Linked DNA regions of Homo sapiens: regions 1 and 3 are each linked to region 2. The links are contacts of gene promoters, found by promoter capture Hi-C in human tissues and cell types (Jung and others, 2019). All regions are on one chromosome and are shown on one strand. Each heading gives the region's core, a stretch centred on a gene start or on the middle of the fragment in contact. The rest is flanking DNA. Distances are from core to core; before and after follow the strand shown. Region 1 holds the start of LETM1 (leucine zipper and EF-hand containing transmembrane protein 1). Region 2 holds the start of TNIP2 (TNFAIP3 interacting protein 2). Region 3 overlaps POLN (DNA polymerase nu).

Region 1 (3,916 bases), core at 994-3,493, 900 kb after region 2:
CATCCCAACTGCAGGCGAGGGTATGTTCCACATTTCCTCACACCCAGCACTTTGGGCAGGGTGGAGACTGCGGGGAGGGCTTCCCTCCTCTTTCAGTGTCATTCAAAGTCCTGTAAACAGGCACTAGCACAGATGGGGCAGTCACCACCTCCTGCCTGGCCTTGCCGGGACACCTGGGACCCCACAGCATTAACGAGAGGAGCACTGTTTCTTGCACCCTCTCCGGGGTCACCCTCCCTAGCCAGCATCGGGCAGGGTCATCTGGTGCTCAGAACCAATGTCCAGACCAGGACTAGGACATACAGTCCTACAGCTGGGCCATAAAAAGTCCTACAGCTGAGCCATAAAAAGTCCTACAGCTGGGCCATAAAAAGTCCAGTTCTTTCTGACCCTGACCAACTGTCCACTCCAGCTCAGGTCCAACCCTGGGTGGGGAGGCAAGGACTATCCTTCTGTATCCCCCTCTTGCCTCCTGGGGGATGGGTGGAAAAGGGGCCCCTTCATGTCTGTTGGCAGCACAGGCCTAGGTTCAGGCCTAGTTGTGCTTAAACTCTGTCTGCATTTGATGTCTGCAGTGCCCACTGACCGGTGTGGACACAGGGACTTACAGACGGCTTCAAAGTGCCCTGCACTAAACAATGCCCCCTTCTCCCACTGAGATGGGGAATTCAAGCCCATCCAGGCCCAGTACCTGGCAGTTCCTGATGGGGAAAACCACCCAGGCAAGCAGGCTACGTTTTCCTGACGGGTGAGGACCGACTGCATGGACAGCAGGGGCAGAGGGGACCCTGGGGAGGGAGCCTCCTAGGGAGATGTGCCATTCAACCAGCCTCTCAAGACTGGGGAGCTGGCTGGCATCAGGCGTTTCACACCCCATGCGCTCCAGGGAACAGAGATGCTGAGTGTGCACTACAAGACCCTCCCCAGGCGGTGCCCTGAGGTGCCGCGGAGAAGCAGGAGGAGGCAGGTTACATCCCTGAACAAGACAGAGGGCAGGGCAAGTGCTGTGCTGGGGATCTCCTAGCTGGAGATCTCCACCAGCTGGGCCCCCAGCGCCGCAGGTCCCCATTTTTCTCCCTGCCTGCTTTCTCTGCCCCAACTCAGGGATCCTCATCTTAGGGAAGGAAGGGGAAGGTGGAGCTCAGAGGTCACGGTCTGCTGGGAGGCTGCACGGTCTCTCTCCCCTGGACTGGTCAGGGCCGGCTATTAAACTGGGCTGGGGGGAGGCTCCTGGGAGACGGCGCATGAGCGGTCCGCGAGCCCAGCCCAGCTCTGGCGGGAATTCTGGAGACTTCGAGCCAGGTCCTTGGCGTCCTGGGCTTCGGCTGTTCCTTCTTGGACTGGGAAGTGGAGCGGACAGGGTATGGCCCAGGTTAGGAAGTCTGGCGCTCTTGCGGCGCGCGGGACCCCAGGGGCTGCTTAGGCCAGAGCGAAACGAGGGGTCCCCCCGCGCCAACGCAGGACCCATATCTACCCCTCCCGCTCAGACGGGAGGACGCGGTGTGCCGGGATGGGGGGCCGCTATGCTGGCTGCGCCGCCACCCGGCCTAGTGCCCTCGCCTCCAGGGGCCGGCATGGCCCTGTCCTTCGGGGCGGGACCCTGCGCTCCCGTCCCCCCAGTGGTGACGGGGACTCCCGACGCCGAGCAGCGCCGTATCTGGGGAGCGCCGCCCGGTACGCAGGGAAGAGGCACTCAGAGCTGCGCGCGCCAGAGTGCAGACCGCCGAGGGCAGAGCCACAGAGCAGGGGGGCCGGCGAGGGACCGCGGCCGAGGGCGTCGAGGGCGCCCCTCCATCCCCAGCGTCCCCTGACTTGCCCTTGGAGCCCCAAGCTCCCAGGAGCCGTTTTCTACTCGTGGGTGCAGGACTTAGTCCCAGAAAAGTTCCGGACACACGCGCTGCTGCCGCCGCCCGGAGACGAAAAGACACTCCCCGCGCAAGCGCGGCCGACTCCCTCAGCTCCTGCGGCCGCCACGCTGCGAGCCCCGGCGTCCACGGTACGACGGGAACCAGGATGCAGCGAGCCCCAGGAGCCAGCCGCCCCGGTGCACGCCGGGACCGGTAGTCCGCGCCTCAGGGTAGTCCGCCGCTCCGGTGCACGCCGGGATCGGTAGTCCGCACCCCAGCGTGCAGGCCGTCCCGGTGCACGCCGGAACCGGTAGTCCGCGGTGGCGCGGTCCGCCCCTCACCTGGCCAGCGGCGGGCGCTGAGGGGCCCAATGGGAGCCGCGGCCTGGCCGCCCCGCCCCGCGCCTCCGGACGTCTGTGCCGGGACAAGGCCGCCGCTGGTGCCGGGTCCTTGAGGAGAGCGCCTCCCGTCCGAGGCCAGCCGCCTCTGTCAGCCGTCCGCGCGGGCCGGGTCTGAAGCGCCGCCGGGACGGCGAAGAGCCGCGGCCGCCGCGGAGAAGGAGGCAGCGCAGGAGGCCGGAGCGGCCGCCGCGCCCGAGCACATGGCGTCCATCTTACTGAGGAGCTGCCGCGGCCGGGCGCCCGCCCGCCTCCCGCCGCCGCCTCGGTACACCGTCCCGCGGGGTAAGCGGCGGGCACCCCAGGGCGGGGCCGGCTCCCGGCTGGTGGGTCGGGAGCGCGGACGACCCGCGGGTTCGGGCTGGTTGTCACGGCGATGCGGGGAGCCCGGTGGTCCCGGCCTCCGGAGCCCCTGCGGGACCGTGGGGCCCCGGGTCTCGTCGCGGGCTGGGCCGCCAGCGCCGGGCGGAGCCGCTGGGCCTCTGCCGTGTGTTGTGACCTTAGGCGGCCGGGTCCCCCGGGTCACTGCCTCAGAGACAGTGGGAAAATTCTGAAGGGCTGGGCAGCCCTGGCGCGCCCTGCGCGAGTAAGCTTGGTGGAACGTGTCCACGCACGAGGACGGCCGTGCCCTTTGGTCACGTTTGGGGTCCCGGAGACGAGACTGGGTGGGCAGGGCAGACACCGGCGAGCAGGACCTGCTGGGCTGCAGGAGCCTTCCTGGTCCGTCACTGATGAGGTGATGCCAGCACCTACAAACCCCTGTGGTGTGATTAGGCCGCGACCGGCACCCGGGGAACACGGGGACTCCGGAGCCGCTGAGGGTCCTCAGGGTGCGTGGCTTTAGCCCCCCTAGCCTCAGGTGCTGTCTGGAGTGAATGCTGTCCCAGGGTGTGCCCACCTCCTCTCTCTCTCTAATTAACCAACTTATTTGAGTCTATGTCCTTATTTGTAAAATTGGAATAAACATAAAACTTGCTAAGAGGGACTCAAGTAAAATAATTAGTGCAGTGGTGCGATCATACTCACTGCACCTCAAACTCCTGGGCTCAAGCTATCCTTCTGCCTCAGCCTCCCAAGTTGTTAGTTGTGCCACACAACACCCAGCTAATTTTTTTTTTTGTAGTTTTTTTGTAGAGACAGGGTCTTGGTATGTTGCCCAGCCTGGTCTTGAACTCCAAGGCTCAACTGATCCTCCTGCTTTGGCCTCCCAAAGTGCTGGGATTACAGGAGCCACCATGCCCAGGCACCCAGCTTCAATATTCTTGTCTCTGTTCCCCACCCCCAAAGAGATAGATTGAAGTTGCCCTGAATGTATCCTCCCAATTCTTGTTTTTTTTTGTTTGTTTGTTTGTTTGTTTTTAAAGACAGAGTCTCAATCTGTTGCTCAGGCTAGAGTGCAGTGGTGTGATCTTGGCTCACTGCAACCTCCACCTCCTGGGTTCAAGTGATTCTCTTACCTCAGCCTGCCGAGTTGCTGGAATTATAGGCACCCGCCATCACGACTGGCTAATTTTTGTATTTTTAGTAGAGACTGTTTTCTCCGTCTTGGCCAGGCGGGTCTCGAACTCCTGACCTCAGGTGATCCACCCACCTCGGCCTCCCAAAGTGCTGGGATTACAGGCGTGAGCCACCGCGCCCGGCCCCCAATTCTTGTAATTTTTTTTTTTTTTT
Region 2 (3,996 bases), core at 1,332-3,831:
CAAACTATCCCAAATGTTAGTAGCTTAAAACAATAAGCATATATTATCTCATCCAGTTTCTGTGGTCAGGGACTCAGAGCAGTTTAGCTGGGCGGTCCTGGCCCGGGGTCTTCCATGGAGTCACAGTCAGTATGTCAGTGGGGGCTACTGTCTTCTGAAGGCTTGACTAGGGTCGGAGGATACAGTCCCAAAGTGGCTTCTTCACCACAGTGGGCAAGTGGGCGCCGGCTGCTGCCATGAAGCCTCAGTTCCTTGCCACATGGACCTCTTCACAGGGTTACTTGATGATAGGGTGGGTGGCTTCCCCCAGAGAGAATGCTCCGAAAGAGGGCAAGGCAGTAGCCGTGATGTCTTGTGGGAGCTAGCTGCAGAAGTCACACTCCATCATTTCTGCAGTACCCTCTTAGTTACCCAGGTCAGCCCTCTCCAGTGGATTGGAGGGGACTACACAGGAGCATGGATATTGGAAGGAGGGGATCCTCTTTGAAAGCTGGCTCCCCCAGTTATATGTACCTATTTGAAATCCAAAGATCCTCATTTCTAAAATACACATGGCGGCCTGGCGTGGTGGCTCACGCCTACAATCCCAGCACTTTGGGAGGCCGAGGCAGGCGGATCACTTGAGGCCGGGAGTTCGAGACCAGCCTGACCAATATGGTGAAACCCCGTCTCTACTAAAATACAAAAAATTAGCCAGGCGTGGTGGCGGGCGCCTGTAATCCCAGCTAATTGGGAGGCTGAGGTGGGAGAATCACTTGAACCTGGGAGGCGGAGGTTGCAATGAGCCAAAAATCACACCACTGCACTCCAGCCTGGGCGACAGATTGAGACTCCGTCTAAAATAAATCAATACGATACAGTACAGTACAATACAATACAATACACCACACCTGACCCCAAGGCTGTTGTTGGATGAGAGACTGTGGATTGTCACATGCACCTTTTACAGTTGAGGCAGAGGCTCAAGGTAGGTCACTGGAATGACGTGCCCCAGGCCACACATTAGCCTCTAACAGCTCTGGGTCCAGTTTTGTTTTTTCCACTCATGCCCCAGACAATCAATAGGCATTGTTTGTAACCATAGCCATGGGGACTGTAGGCTTGCTGTGCAGCAGCCACTGCACTGGACAAGCATTCCATGCACACTCCACCCTCTAGTCCCCACAACAGCCCAACCAGGTAGGGTGGGCACTCGCTCTGCCCTTCCTTCTGCTGAGAGGAAGCCCAGGCTCTGATGAGTAAGAAGGAGCCTTCCATAGCAAAGCCAGGCCTGTGTAGCCCAATGTCCGGGCCATAAGCACTTGGGTGGCTCTGGCTTTGCTTATAGGCTTGTCTGATTCTACAAGCTTGTGTTTTCCCAGGCTCAGCTCAGGCTTGGCTGTGGATCACATAAGGGAAGAAAGTCAAGAAGCTGCTCAGGGGCGGAGCCTGTGGGCAAGTGCACACACAGGGAAGACCCCTGCCCTATCCTGAGTAGGGAACCTTGGAAAGACCCCATGTGTGCTTGGGCATCATTGTGGGGAAGACTGGGCTGTGGAAAAACACTAGCGTTTGTCTGGGAATTTTGGGGAAGGAAAGGGATGGAAAAGCGAAAGGGTGGGAAGGGGCTGGTTTCCTGCTGCTTCTGCTATATAAGAACAGCATCTAGCAGGAAGGTTGTCCCGTGGGCCCATACTAGCCACCTTACAAAGCAGCGTCTGCAGTGGCTGACGCCTGTAATCCCAGCACTTTGGGAGGCTGAGGCCGGTGGATCTACCTGAGGTCAGGAGTTCAAGACCAGCCTGGCCAACATGGTGAAACACCATCTCTACTAATAATACCAAAAAATTAGCAGGGCATGGTGGCGGGCGCCTGTAATCCCAGCTACTCAGGAGGCTGAGGCAGGAGAATCGCTTGAAACTGGGAGGCGGAGGTTGTAGTGAGCCGAGATCGCGCCATTACACTCCAGCCTGGGCAACAGAGCGAAACTCCGTCTCAAAAAGAAGAAAAAAAAGGAAAGAAAAAAGAAAGCGGCGTGCGGGGCAGGGGGTTGGAGCTCTTTCTGGGCTCAGTGTCCCCAGGTGACGGAACACATGCCACGTGCTTGGTGCGCTGCGAGCTCAGCTCCTGGAGCTTCTGTTGCTGCTGTGGCCGCAAGGCCTGGACCCTCGCGGGGAGATTCAGACCCACACTTAGCTCCAGAGCTTGGGGGTTGTCGTTAAGCCCTTCCTTTCCATCAGAGGCTGATGAATCCCCAAACTCCTGGGCTGAGTTCGACTCTCCGACAACTCCTCAGAGGCGGATGTTTGGGGCCACTGGAATAAGCCCAGCACCAGCTGGGGTGTGGACAGCCTCGGGGGCCAGGCCAACTCTCCCGGACGGGTGCGGACGGCAGGGGCGGGGCCGGGCTGTAGGCGGTGGGAGGGGTGGGGCCGGGCGAGAAGGGGCTGGGCGGGCTGCCGTCGGGCGGGGCTGCGCGGGGAAGGGCGGGGCTGCGCGGGGGGCGGGGCTGCGTGGGGGAGGGCGGGGCCGGGCTGTTGTGGGTGGGCGGGGCGCACCGGGGAAAGTTCCGGGAAGGGCGGCAGCCGGCGGGGCCCGGGCGCGGAAGTTGCCGGCGGCCGCGCGGCCTCCCGGGCGGGCCTACAGCCATGTCCCGGGACCCGGGGTCGGGCGGCTGGGAGGAGGCCCCGCGCGCAGCTGCCGCGCTCTGCACCCTGTACCACGAGGCCGGACAGCGGCTGCGCCGCCTGCAGGACCAGCTCGCTGCCCGCGACGCCCTCATCGCTCGCCTCCGCGCCCGCCTGGCCGCGCTGGAGGGGGACGCCGCGCCGTCCCTAGTGGACGCGCTGCTGGAGCAGGTTGCGCGCTTCCGGGAGCAGCTGCGAAGGCAGGAGGGCGGCGCCGCCGAGGCCCAGATGCGCCAGGTACGAGGGCGGGTACCAGAGGAGCTGCGGGAGCGAGAGTGCGTGTGGCGGCCGCCGGGTCCTGGGTGGGTGAGCGAGCGGGCCCCGGGTCCTGAGGGGTTGAGGGGGTACTGGGTCCTGGGGTTGAGTTGGCCTCGGGTCCTGAGGGGTTGGGGGAGCACCAGGTCCTGGGAGTTGAGGGGGTGCCGGGTCCTGGGGGTGAGGGGGCCCCGGCTCCTGAGGGGTTGGGGGAGCATCAGGTCCTGGGGGTTGAGGGGGTGCCGGGTCCTGGGGTTGAGGGACACTAGGTCCTGGGGGTAAGGGGCCGTCGGGTCCTGGGGGTGATAGGGCAACAGCTTCTGGGGGGTGAGGGGACCCTGGGTCCTAGGGGAGAGAGGGGGACCAGGTCCTGAGTGGGATAAGGGGACACCACGGGCTGAGGTGTGCTGGGTCCTGGGGGGTTTGAGGCGTCACCAGGTGCTGGTGGAGGTGAGGGGGCTCTGGGTCCTGCGGGGTGAGGGTGCAAGGTTCTGAAGGGGATAAGCGAATGCTGGATCCTGGGGGGTTGGGAGGGCACTGGGTCCTGGGGGATGGTGAGGAGGCACTGGGTTCTGAGGAGGGGGGTTGGTGCAGTTCTTGGGTTCTGTGTGTGTGTGGTGTATGTTCAGGTGGGCTCTTAGGGGTATTTTGAGGTTCGTGTGTGGGAACACATTCCGAGGGGGGTGTGTGTATGCTGTGTGTATTCTGTGTGTATTGTGTAGTGTGTATGTTCCGGTTGGTTCTTAGGGGTGTTTTGAGGTGTGTGTGCGGGAGACACATTCTGAGGGGTGTGTATGGTGTGTGTGTGTACGCACACATGTGTGTCTTGGGTCCAAGGTCGTGTACTCATATTGTGTTCTAGAGTCCCTTCCAGCCCTCACCCATGCATGTGTCTTTCACTAGTGGCGCTTCAACTCTATGCTGGGAGCAATGGCAAATGCAGCCCGTGTCTGATAAAGGACACAAATCCTAGGCTGGGTGCAGTGGCTCACGCCTGTAATCCCAGTACTTTCGGAGGCAAGGCGGGCAGATTGCCTGAGCCCAGGAGTTCGAGACAAGGCTGAGCAACATGGTG
Region 3 (4,188 bases), core at 924-3,423, 540 kb after region 2:
TCAGACCCACTGAGAGGTGGGCATGCAGCTGTCCATTGCAAGTTGGAAGTGGCTCATTTAGTACTAGGTACAAGCAGGCACAACCAAGCTTTTCATGTGGCCCAGAACCCATGACATCATTGGTGCTGGCACTGGTACTTCTGACGGGGGCAGCCTTAAGACCAGCTGATGGAGGCAGGAAAAGTTAGAGCTTGGTTCATGGTGGGTGGGCTCTGAACAGCCTGATTTAGGCAGCCCTGGAAGACAGTGCTCAAGGGAAACCCAATGGGTAGAACGTTGGGTGGTGCCCCTTGACTATCTACTTTGTGTGGAAGGAGAAGTGGCCCCAGTGTTAACACATTTGGAACTCTTGGGCAGCGGTTAGTGGCTTGACAGGTTGCTCAGGTACCTGGAATGAGAAAGATTGGAAGATCAGGGAGTTCCTGGAGTAAGGCATGTGGAGGGATCTGTGGGAACAGTCACGAAGTACTTCCCACCCAAGAACATTCACCATGGGGACACACCAAACCACCACATTAATAGGATGACTTGGCCAGTTGACATCTAGCCTCTGCCATCTGCTGCGCCCATGCTGGCACACTGGGCTCTCTCATGGAGTAATCATGGGGTGGGTAGATGCTGTGCATGGCCCATAGCATGGGGCTCCCCCTCACCAGAGCTGACCTAGCTATTTCTCTGCAGAACATCCAATCTTCCAGCAACAGAGACCAAACACTGAGTCCCCAGTTGTACCTTCCTTGGAGGGAAACAGTCATTTGACAACACTGAACCCCTTGTGCCCTAGAAGGTACAGTGATTCATCTTGGCCAGAACCAACACACGTTACAGGCATGGGTTTGCCTTTCCCATTCTCATGGATTCAGTCAGCTCCATCACCCAAGTTTCACAGAGTGTTTGATCCACAGGATCCTGCGCTCAGCCAAGGAACTGCAGCAGTGGGCACATGAGAGTAGGACTCACTGTCTCCCTCACAGCCACACACCAAGAAGCTGCCAGCCTGATGGAGCAGCAGGATGGTCTGTGGAAGGCACAGCTCACCTCGTGTGCAGCCTGGAGGTGACACCTGTGATGAAGCAGTCACCTCCAGGGTGCAGTCTGCACTGCAAATCACTAACCAGTACGTGGTGCAGTGTCCTTGGTTTGTGTAATAAATGGGTCTGGGAACCAAAAGGTGAAAGTCATCACTCCCAGTGACCCACTTAGAAATCTGTATTTCTCCCTCACACTCCTCTGGGTTCTTAAGGTTTAAAGGTCTTGACTCTCAAAGGGAAAACCTTTCCAGCAGGGGCACAGGAAGAACGCCATTTAATTTCCAGCTGTGGCTGCTGTCTGGTCATTTTGAGCTCCTTGTGCCAAGAGACTGGCTGGCAAGGAATGTAATTTCCATCTTCTGGGGTGGCTGACCGTGGGCGTCAGGTGGAGGTAGAGCTGTTACTACATAACTGGGGGCAGGGAAGCACCCAGGTGATGTGATTGGCCACCTCATGGTCCCCTGCCCAAATTTGATGGCAAATGCTGGGGCTATGGCCAGAGAAGGGCATGGTGGCCAGGGGCTTACCTCTCAGGGATGAGGGTTTGGGTTACCTGATCAGGTAAGCTAAGCCACCTAGAGCAGCAGAGGAGATAGGCAAGGGTGAGGAGTTAGCATGGGCAGTAGAGGAGGGAGATGAATGTAATTTGCAACCTTGAGGCCAGCTGCAGCAAGATGTAGTTCATCCCAGTGCCTTCCTTTTATAAATTTCCCAAGGAAAAGGCCCGCCAGAATCCTACAGGAGCTGCTCCCAGAACGTCCCTGAAGCAAGTGGCTATGAGCAGTGCAGTGTGGAGTGTAGCAAGCACTGTGGTTCCCATATGCCCCTTTAGTACTGAAGCACTGTCCCTGCTCCTGGGACAGCCCCTCCCTGATTGCCTGGCTGCAAAGAACTTCTTTGCCCAAGGGCCCACCCCTTCCCCAGGAGTGACTGGTCCAGTGACTAGTTTGTGCAGGGGTATAAAAGCCCAGCTGTCTTGACCCATTGGGAGACACATCTGTAGGACCATGCTCAGCTCAGGGCAGGCCTTTGAGTGACTGCATCTTAGCCATTGTCTTCCTTGGTTGGATTCTGCTTCCTTCACTCTCCAATCACCTTTTCAAATGCAAACCTTCATCACAGAGGTGGTCTCCCAGGGTACCCGAGTGTTATGTGCGTAACATCTTCGTGTGCATAAGCGGGGAGATTTGGTCATTATTTTTAAAAATGAGGTCATCATCTTCAGTCAACCACTATAGCTGGAGTCATTTTCCCCCCTGCAATCTATGTTTTAACAAGGTCATTCTTTTTAGTGGCTATGTATTTCATGATGTGGATATTATGTAATTTATTCCTCAGTTTTCTTCTGATTGGTATCTACTTTATTTTCAGTCCTTTGCCATAATGAGCAATACTGCTATAAACATTTTGGTTTAAACCTGTTTACTGTTGCATATATTTCTGTGAAACAGCCAAGAGTGAGATTATTTGGTTAGAGATTATTTGGTTAGATGATGGATATTATTTCCTATCTGTTTTTGTTAAGGCAAGAGCACTCTGTCTCTCATATATATATGGCTGAGGTATATACATATATATGTATATGTATATACATATATATGTATATGTATGTGTATATGTGTGTGTGTATATATATAAAACAGCACACATATCCTAAGTTTAGTTTAGGTCAAAATTTCACAAACCCAAACCCAGTTCAGGAAACATAACTAGCATTCCCAGAGGCCCATCTTGAGCTCCCTGTGGGTCACTTTCTCCACCCAACTCCCAAAGTGATGTATGCATTATTAATTTTAATAAGTCTTGACAGTTTGCCTTCTAGAAAGAGTCTATTTACATTTTTACCAGCAATACATGAGACTACCTCTTCCCCTGTGTTTCCAGTTATAGTTAATTTGCGTTTCCCTGAGTATTGTATTTGTTTCCTCTTTGGGTTTTCTGTTTTGTGTATTGCCTCTTCCTATTCTTTGCTCATTTTTCTGTTGAATTGTTTGTCTTATCTTGTAAATGTATGAGAACTTGTTGTATAATATAGCAGTTAACCCTTTGTCATTTTTGTTCCAAATAGTTTTCCCAATGCATTTATTTTCTTTTTGATGTGGTGCTAGTTATACCAGCCCTATTAATTAATCTATCCTTTTCTATTGAATTGAAATACTATCTTTGTTGTATATAAAGTCTTGGGATCAGTCTCTGGGTTGTCTGTTCTCTTCTAGAGGTCTTTTCTCTCTCTCTTTTTTAAGCTTACTTTTTTTTTTCCCAGGACAGAGTCTTGCCCTGTAACCCAGGCTGGAGTGCAGTGGCGCAATCTCGGCTCACTGCAACCTCCACCTCCCGGGTTCAAGCAATTCTCCTGCCTCAGCCTCCCAAGTAGATGGGATTGCAGGTGCTTGCCACCACACCTGGCTAATTTTTGTATTTTTAGTAGAGGTGGGGTTTCACCATTTTGGCCAAGCTGGTCTCGAGCTCCTGACCTGAGGTGATCCACCCACCTCAGCCTCCCAAAGTGCTGGGATCACAGGCGTGAGTCACCACGCCCGGCCTAAGCTTACATTTCTTGTCTTTTCGTACTTTGAAATTATTTTATTAAATTAAAATATCCCTGTAGGGTCTCCAATTGGAATTGCCTTAAATTTAGAAGAATTAAACATTTTGTGATCTATATCCTAATGCTGTGTCTTTTCATTTGTACAGATCTTTTTTTATGCCATTTAATAAGATTTTACATTTTCATCATTGAGGGCCTTGTATCTTTTTTGTTATATTTATCCTAAGTATAATGTTTTTATATTGTAAGTGAAATATTTTCCCCTATTTGCATTTCAGGTTGTTATTGTTCCTGCAGAGGAAATGTATGTCACAGTGGTTAAGAGCACAGACTCCCAAATCCTATTGCCTGGGATTGGATCCTGGTTCTGTCACTTACTGTTCAGCCCAGGCTTATTGAAATTAAATCAAAATCTAAATTAGAAGTTTGTTTTAATGATGTTTTACTGAACCTTCAATTGTTCCACTGCAGTATTCAGTCTAAGAATTTCCCCAAACCTTTAATCCTTTTAAGGTTTCTATAAAAGTTGACCTTGGGTTTTTAGAGTCATGTATTCAAATGCAAATGTCAAATAATGATTTTTAATAAATGTTTTATGATTATATAGAG

Evidence for each region. The method cuts DNA at HindIII sites, captures the fragments that hold promoters and counts their contacts. A contact is called where the count stands out against the background at its distance.
Region 1: a contact is called between the fragment with the promoter of LETM1 here and the fragment with the promoter of TNIP2 in region 2, in 1 of the 25 tissues and cell types used here (spleen).
Region 3: a fragment that was not itself captured here is called in contact with the fragment with the promoter of TNIP2 in region 2 in 2 of the 25 tissues and cell types used here (lymphoblastoid cells and mesenchymal stem cells).

Annotation. Positions count from the first base shown.
Region 1 is chr4:1,854,483-1,858,398 of GRCh38, reverse strand. LETM1 (leucine zipper and EF-hand containing transmembrane protein 1) reads left to right here and starts at 2,243. Exons shown (of 14, transcript NM_012318.3): 1 at 2,243-2,530. The coding sequence starts at 2,449. RefSeq lists enhancers at 362-1,157, 1,827-1,896, 2,534-3,035 and silencers at 1,427-1,646, 2,047-2,606, 2,617-2,806, 3,601-3,777. The HindIII fragment of the contact is 14,961 bases long and covers 1-3,916 here.
Region 2 is chr4:2,754,921-2,758,916 of GRCh38, reverse strand. TNIP2 (TNFAIP3 interacting protein 2) reads left to right here and starts at 2,581. Exons shown (of 6, transcript NM_024309.4): 1 at 2,581-2,903. The coding sequence starts at 2,628. RefSeq lists silencers at 2,119-2,258, 2,439-2,958, 2,979-3,038. The HindIII fragment of the contact is 11,459 bases long and covers 1-3,996 here.
Region 3 is chr4:2,213,340-2,217,527 of GRCh38, reverse strand. All of the region lies in intron 3 of POLN (DNA polymerase nu), which reads left to right. Among named protein-coding and RNA genes, the nearest start is that of HAUS3, 27 kb to the left of the region's middle. RefSeq lists a silencer at 1,752-2,046. The HindIII fragment of the contact is 4,456 bases long and covers 1-4,188 here.